Regions from separate parts of the Homo sapiens genome. Here region 1 is linked to region 2. The links are contacts of gene promoters, found by promoter capture Hi-C in blood cells and fetal thymus (Javierre and others, 2016). All regions are on one chromosome and are shown on one strand. Each heading gives the region's core, a stretch centred on a gene start or on the middle of the fragment in contact. The rest is flanking DNA. Distances are from core to core; before and after follow the strand shown.

Region 1 (4,203 bases), core at 234-2,733, 110 kb before region 2:
ATGCCAGCAGGCCCTGCCCTCTGAGTGTTGGCAGACTTGAACATCCCTAGGGAACGAGAGAAGTTGGGCAACGATGGGAGAGCAGTGCAGGCCCTGGAGGTGACGAGTCTGTTGAGATTCTGATGGGGATGGGTCAGAGGACGTAGAAAGCAGTGAAGGCCTAGACGCCCCCAGGTCAGTGTAGCCTGCTCTGCTTCCAGTGAGCTGGGCTCAGTCCCCCACATGTCATTGTCTTAGACGCCCATGGCCTTTGCACAGGCCGAGCCTGATGTTTGGAACATCGTCGCCTCTAGGGGGCCTGGCTCCTAATCATGCATCACCTCCTCCAGGAGAACTTTCCTGCCCCTACACTGAGTTCAAGCTTCTCAGACACCAGCCCCAGTTGAGTTCGAGTTATAACCGTCACCAGTTATCACACCATCCTGTAATCTGTGCGGTGCCCCTTAGGGCAGGACCTGGGTCCTAGATGTCTCTGTACCTCTAGCCCCAAACCAGGCCTGACCTGTCTCTTGAAGGAGTATTTGTGTTGAAGATGGGTGGTAACGTTCAGCAAAAGCCATGCCCAGGAGACAGGCACAGTACCCATGGAGACCCAGGGCCAGCTGATGACAGTGATGAATTCCCTTTAGAACTGGCGGACTCTTGGGTGCTTGGAGACACTATATAAATAAGGAACTCTGGCTGTGTGCATGGGAGAGTATATTAACAGGGCTTGGCCTGGCTGTGAGGTGCAGAGATGCCGTTTCTCTCAGGTAAGGAGCCATATTGGGGCAGGGGTTTCCTAATCCTTTTTTGACTCACAAAATACACCTAGGAAATGTTAAATAAATAGTCATTTTTGAGTAGTATATGATAAAGAAGTGATTGATTTTGACTAAAAATATTCATGTTCTATTTTTAGAATATGAAAGATTGTATTATAAAGATCACTTGAAATAAAATTTTAGATAATATATGGAGACAAATTTCTGCTTTTTACATTTAACTTGCTGTTTAATGTATCTCAAATTATTTATGTAAGAGATATATGATTTGACCAATAAATATAAAAAAATGTTATACCATAATCTGGGGACCTAAAGTACTTCACTTTTTTTGTTCTGTTTTGTTTTTGAGACAGGGTCTCTCTCTGTTGCCCAGGCTGGAGTGCAGTGGCCCAATCATGGCTCACTGCAGCCTCATCCTCCTGGGATTAAATGATTCTTCCACCTCAGTCTCCCGAGTAGCTGAGACTACAGGCACATGCCACTATCGCTGGTTTTGTTGTTGTTTTGTTTTGTTTTGTTTTTTGAGACAGAGTCTCTGTTACCCAGGCTGGAGTGCAGTGGCACAATCTCGGTTCATTGCAACCGCCTCCTCCCGGGTTCAAGCGATTCTCATGCATCCGCCTTCCGAATAGGTGGGATTACAGGCATGCGTCACCACACCCAGCTAATTTTTGTACTTTTAGTAGAGACAGGGTTTCACCATGTTGGCCAGGCTGATCTCCAGCTCCTGACCTCAAGTGATCCACCCGCCTCAAGCCTCCCAAAGTGCTGGGACTACAGGTGTGAGTCACCGTGCCCAGCCGCCCAGCTCATTTTAAATTTTTCTTGTAAAGACAAGGTCTCACTATGTTGCCCAGGCTGGTCTCTAATTCCTGGGCTCAAGCAATCCTCCTGCCTTGGCATCCCAAGTGCTAGCATTACAGGCATGAGCTACTGCACCTGGCCCTAAAGTACTTAAAATGTAATTTAAAATTTGCACCTGGGAGGCCAGACACGGTGGCTCACACCTGTAATCCCAGCACTTTGGGAGGCCAAGGCAGGTGGATCACAAGGTCAGGAGTTCAAGACCAGCCTGGCCAGCATAGTGAAACCCCATCTCTACTAAAAATACCCAAAAAAAAGCCAGGCTTGGTGGTGGGCGTCTGTAATCCCAACTACTCAGGAGGCTAAGGCAGAGAATTGCTTGAATCCGGGAGGCAGAGGTTGCAATGAGCTGAGATCGCACCACTGCACTCCAGCCTGGTGACAGAGCGAGACTCCATCTCAAAAAAAAAAAAAAAAAAAAAAAAAAAAGTGCACCTGGGTTAGGCATCTCCCAGAAGCCAGAGTGATTGTTCAAAAACTTAAATCAGGCCAGGCACGGTGTCTCACACCTGTAATCCCAGCACTTTGGGAGGCCACGGTGGGCAGATCACCTGAGGTCGGGACTTTGAGACCAGCCTGACCAACATGGAGAAACCCCGTCTCTACTAAAAATACAAAAATTATCCAGGCATGGTGGCGCACGCCTGTAATCCCAGCTACTTGGGAGGCTGAGGCAGGAGAATCACTTGAACCCAGGAAGCAGAGGTTTCAGTGAGCCAAGATTGCGCCACTGCACTCCAGCCTGAGCAACAGAACAAGACTGTCTCAAAAACAAAAACAAAAATCTTAAGTCATCTCAAGTTCCTCTTGCTTAAAACCCTTGAAAGGCTCTCCAGCATAGTCAAAGCAAATACCAAACCCTTTACCATGGCCTTCAAGGCCCTGCTTGATCTGGCCCCTGCCCACATCACTGATCTTACCTCTTCCTACTCTTTAGCCTTATTCACTGCACTGAAATCCCACTGCCAAGCTTAGCCCCACCTTGGAGGCTTTGCCCTGGCTGCACCCCTCTCCTAGTGCTCTTCCTCCACAACTTTTAGAGGCTAGCTCCTACATACCAGGCAGATTTCAGAAGACCTTTCCTGTCATCCAATCTGAAAAAGCTCCCATCCCAATCAGCGTCTATCACATCACCCTTGTTCTTCCTTTCAGAGCACCTAATACTCCCAGAAAGAATCACATTTCTGTGTTTGCTAGTTGTTTATTATGTCTCTTCTACCAGGCTGGGAACTTCAGGAAAGCCAGGACCAAGTCAATCTTGATCTAGGCTCTGTCTTCAGCATCTAGAACCAGGCTTGGCACCAACTGAGTAGGTAATCCGTAAATAAATTGCTGTTGCTGTGTATCAAAAAGAAAAAACCAAAGTTTGCATGGTCCAGTGCTTAGAAGTTTTGAAATAAAAAATGTAGCTATTTTTTGGCTGGGTATAGTGGCTCACGCCTGTAATCCCAGCACTTTGGGAGTCCGAGGCGGTGGATCACCTGAAGTCAGGAGTTCGAGACCAGCCTGGCCGACATAGTGAAACCACGTCTCTACTAAAAATACAAAAATTAGCCGGGAGTGGTGGCAGGTGCCTATAATCCTAGCTGCTTGGGAGGCTGAGCGGGGAGAATCACTTGAACCTGGGAGGCAGAAGTGGCAGTGAGCTGAGATCGTGCCATTGCACTCCAGCCTGGGCGAAAGAGCAAGACTCAGTTTAAAAAAAAAAAAAGTAGCTATTTTTTAAATTGGAAAACCAATCACATGCACATAGCAAAGAATTGAAATAGTACAAAAGTGAGCCTGTTTGCCTCACACCTTCATATTGATCAGGATAGGACAGGCTGGTCTGTGGTTACAGTGATTTCTTTTTTTTTTTTTTTCTTCCAGAGATGGAGTCTCGCTCTGTCTCCCAGTCTGGAGTGCAGTGGCATGATCTTGGCAATCTGGGCTCACTGCAACCTCCGCCTCCCAGATTCAAGCAATTCTCCTGCCTCAGCCTCCCGAGTAGCTGGGACTACAGGCACACGCTGCCACACCTGGCTAATTTTTTGTATTTTAGTAGAGACAGGGTTTCACCACGTTGCCCAGGCTGGTCTCAAACTCCTGAGCTCAGGCAATCTGCTCGCCTCAGCCTCCCAAAGTGCTAGGATTACAGGCGTGAGCCACCGCACCTGGCAGTACAGTGATTTCTAATATTGCCCATGACTGTTGGCTGAACTCAACTGGTGATTCTTACTTTGAATGGCTTATGTGACTGCGATCACACCAGGACTGGAGTTACCTGAAGACTCAGCTGGGCAGGTTACTGTTGATGGCTCACTCATTTGGCTGGCAGGAGATGCCATCTATTGGCTAGAGGGTCGGAGCTGCAAACCAAAGCACCTACATGTGGCCCCTTCACATGGCTTAGGTTTCTCAGAACATGGTGGCTAGATTCTGAGAGGGAGGCATCCCAAAACATGCATCCAACAGTATGAAAGCTGCCAGTCTCTTACGGTTTGACCCTGAAATTAGAACACATCACTTCCTCTGCATTCTATTAACCAAAGCAGTCACGGACCAGCCCAGATTGAAGGAGAGGGGACATAGG
Region 2 (3,939 bases), core at 1,383-3,882:
GCTGACCCTCCCCTGCCTCTTCCTAGGCCCTGTGTGCTGCAGTCACCACCACAGACCTGGCTGAGACCCAGGCGCTCCTGGGCTGTGGGGCTGGGATCAACTGCTTCTCGGGGGACCCTGAGGCCCCCACGCCCCTGGCTCTTGCAGAGCAGGCGGGGCAGACGCTGCAGATGGAATTCCTTCGGAACAACCGGACCACAGGTGAGCGTGGCAGAGGGTGGGGGTCCACCAGGCTGTGCAGTGCCTGGTGGGGTTTGATTTACCTGCTGCTCTCAGGCCGTGATCGCAGCTCCTCAAGGGCCTGTGATAAATCATGTGTGAGCTGGGGTGTGCTTGGGTTTGCATGTCAGTGTGTATTTGTACTACGTATGCATGTTCCTCTGTGTCTGTGTCTCTGTGACTGTTGATGACTTCCCTGACTTGCAGTGTGGGCCCCTCAGGATGGCTGGCAGCTGTGCTGGTGTTTGTGCGCCTCTGAGCCCCCCGGATTTGTGTTTCTGGGGATGCTGAGAGCTTTGGAGTACATGCGTGTGCAGAGTGTGTCTGTGTTGCTGCGTGAGGGGTGCTGAGTTACATTTCTCCATGGGTGGGTCACCCACCTAGGCAGCCCTGTCTACTGCCCTGCTTGGGTGGAGCTCAATCCTGAACTTGGTTTGGGTACCATTGGCTCCCTCTTGGGGTGGGTGAGGAGGGGTCAGTGGGCTGAGCAGCACAGCTCGTGGCCCAGGCCTGGACTCTGGGGCCACATCCCAGGACTGAGGGTGGAGCTCAATGGCTGGGGCTCTGGGCTCAGGGCCATGGGTGGGCGGGGCACACTGGGCTGGAGAGAGCCCAGGTGTCCAGGGAGACACAGGAGACCACCCAACTGGCTTGGGCTTGGGGACAGATCACCGCCCCCCCACGGCGCTGACCGTGGGGAACAGGGCTGTAGTCAGGCTGCCACCTTGAGCTTCCCGCTGTCTGGGACAATCCTCTTTCCAGGGATTATTATTGAGTTTGCCCAATGCCCCCCTCATGCCAGTGTGCCTGGCCTATGCCTCCAACCTGGAGAGTGGGGTGGGGCAGGAATCAGGGAGGCTTCCTGGAAGGGGAGGTGCTGGAACTGGGCCTTGGGAGTGGAGTGAATTTCCACAAGTGGGGAGAGGTGGAGAAACAGCCTGGACAAGACCCTGCAGGTAGGAGGGGGAGCTTGAGGCTGCCAGTTAGGGAGCTGGGGCTGATGATTCGAAAGTGAGCCTGAATGCCCAGGCCAGGTGGGAGTGAGGTGGGGACACCCTCTTGGGTGGCCAGCATGACCTGCCATCCTTTCCCCGCCTACAAAGAGGTGCCTCGGCTGGACTCGATGAAGCCCCTGGAAAAGCACTACTCAGTTGTCCTGCCGACCGTGAGCCACAGTGGCTTCCTCTACAAGACTGCCTCTGCCGGCAAGCTGCTACAGGACCGCCGGGCCCGGGAAGGTGGGTGCCACCCCAGACTCTGCTTTAGCCCATGGCATCTGGTCACGGCTGCAGGGCTAGGGAAGCCAGGGCTGGCCAGACTGGTGGACTCTGGCAGAGTCACCCTAGAGGGCTTCCTGGATATAGTCTGTGGTACACAGTAGGTACTTCCTAAATGATCCTGGTGGGAGTGGGGGTAGTGCATGACACTGCAGAGCAGGTCAGTGCCAGAGTTTCTTTGGACTAAATGAGCCTTTATTGAGCCCCTACTGGATATGGGCTCTGCTGAGCATCTGGTAGTAAGAGCCTGTGGCTGGTAGGGAGTTTGAGGACTGAACGAAAGCCCTATCCATCTGATCTCAGCCTTCCATTCACTCCCCAACTCAGAAGAAAATCCACAAGAGCCCGCACAGTTGGCCACCACCCCCATTACCTCTCTGAACCACCCCCCTAATCACTCTGCCGGTCTCCTCACTGTTTCTCAGACACGTCGTCACCTACCAGGATCTTTGCCTGTGCTGTTCCCTCTGCCTGAAATGCATTCCCCCAGGTATCTGCATGGCCAGTCCCTCACTTCCGTCAGGTCTCTGTTTCAGTATCACTCCTGCAGAGATGTCATCTCTGACTACCTTATGCAAAATAGCACCCCCCATCTCTCCCTTTACCCTTTTGAGATGGAGTTTCGCTCTTGTTGCCCAGGCTGGAGTGCAATGGCGCGATCTTGGCTCACCGCAACCTCTGCCTCCCGGGTTCAAGCAATTCTCCTGCCTCAGCCTCCCGAGTAGCTGGGATTACAGGCATGCGCCATCATGCCTGGCTAATTTAGTTAGTAGAGATGGGGTTTCACCATGTTGGTCAGGTTGGTCTCAAACTCCCGACCTCAGGTGATCTGCCCGCCTTGGCCTCCCAAAGTACTGGGATTACAGGCGTGAGTCACCACGCCTGGCTACCCTGCATTTTCTTCACACCACTTACCTGGTACTCATTTGTCCATTAATGTACTTATCTATAGATTCTCTGTACCCCACTGGGACATAAACTCCTTTTGGCCACCACTGCCTGTAGCCCCCAGATCCTAGAACAGTGGCTAGCACACAGTGGGCACTTGGCAAATACCTGCAGAATGAAGGATGACTCAGGCAGAGCTGGTGCTCCTGGAGGGAGCCCACCTGCGGGGACAGGCCTGAGGACACATTGCTCTCAAAGAGCACATGTCAGGCCCTCACAGACAGGATGAGAGACAGAGTCTGCTGTGGGAACATTGTGAGGTCATTGCTGACAACATCCCTCAGCACCTCCTGCATGCTTTCCTACGGGGACAAAGCCCTCCAACTCCCAAAGAGATTTCTTTGGAACTCCATGCTGTTCACAACCTCATTGCCCCAGGTCTGCCTCCCTCTGCCTGACAATGTCATTTATGTAACAACTGCCTGAGTCATCCTTTTTGCCCTGGATGCCAGGAAGCTCTGAGCCACTGTAAAGCTCAGTGCTGTGAACGGTACAAGCCTGCATGGCCATGACAGCCTATCCTTTCCATTACCTTTCCTGGTCCAGATTCCCATTTCTGTTTCTTTTATGGGACCTTGCCAGTCCTTCAGAGCCATTGTAGCAGGAGGCAGAGTACAGAGTGATAGATGCTTCTGGAAAAGGAGGTTGGGGCATAGAAGGCTTCCTGTGACATTCAGGTGGTGGGTAGAGGGGACAAGGTTTGCAAAAGCTGGGAGTGCTGGGTAGGGATGTGTGTGTCCAGGAGTGACAGAGAGGCAGCTGGAGAGACGGGCAGGGGTAGACCTGGCAGGGCCTTGAATGGCAGGCTGAGGGGCACAGAGTCTGTCCTGAGGACCATGGAATGGTTTTGGTTAGAGGAAGGATGGGGTCTGATTTTAGCTAGATCACTCTGGGATTTTGGAAGGGGCTGCTGCAGAGGCCTGGGGGAGCGGATGACTTGTGGGCTGGCTAGCGTGGTGGGGATGCAGAGAGGTGGATGGATTTAGGGAAAACTTGAGAGAATGAAGAGCTCATGGGTCAGATGGGAGCAGGAGCCCCGGGAGGATGCAGAGGTGGTTTTCAGGTGGTGGGGGGCTCCCTGATGGCTCCCCTGCCCAAATTCTCCCCAGAGTTCAGCCGGCGCTGGTGTGTCCTTGGTGACGGGGTCCTGAGCTACTTTGAGAATGAGCGGGCAGTGACCCCCAATGGAGAGATTCGGGCCAGCGAGATTGTGTGCCTGGCAGTGCCCCCTCCTGACACCCATGGGTGAGTACTCCTGGGCAAATCAGACTGTGGTTGCTATAAGGTACAATCCCCCACTGGGGAGACAGGGAAATAGACCCAGAGAAGGGGAGGACCTCCGCAGAGTCACACAGCAAACGGAGGCTGCACAAGGGCCGACTCCAGTCTCTTGAGGCCCCAGCCCAAGACTTTTCCACCACCTCTTAGGGGACCAGAATAAGGACAAGCGCCAAGGCAGTGCGGAGGGGGCAGAGGATGGCGGTTGATGGTGCGG

What was found. The method cuts DNA at HindIII sites, captures the fragments that hold promoters and counts their contacts. A CHiCAGO score of 5 or more calls a contact.
Region 1: a fragment that was not itself captured here is called in contact with the fragment with the promoter of ARAP1-AS2 in region 2 in 5 of 17 cell types (megakaryocytes, M0 macrophages, M2 macrophages and 2 more); the score reaches 7.4 in megakaryocytes.

Annotation. Positions count from the first base shown.
Region 1 is chr11:72,809,182-72,813,384 of GRCh38, reverse strand. LOC107984421 (a long non-coding RNA gene) reads left to right here. Exons shown (of 3, transcript XR_007062771.1): 1 at 1-752. Among named protein-coding and RNA genes, the nearest start is that of ATG16L2, 3.1 kb to the left of the region's middle. RefSeq lists enhancers at 362-491, 652-711. The HindIII fragment of the contact is 2,240 bases long and covers 364-2,603 here.
Region 2 is chr11:72,699,167-72,703,105 of GRCh38, reverse strand. ARAP1-AS2 (ARAP1 antisense RNA 2) reads right to left here and starts at 2,632. Exons shown (of 2, transcript NR_146780.1): 1 at 2,553-2,632. ARAP1 (ArfGAP with RhoGAP domain, ankyrin repeat and PH domain 1) reads left to right here. Exons shown (of 35, transcript NM_001040118.3): 15 at 27-201; 16 at 1,323-1,457; 17 at 3,554-3,689. RefSeq lists a silencer at 1,987-2,086. The HindIII fragment of the contact is 37,247 bases long and covers 1-3,939 here.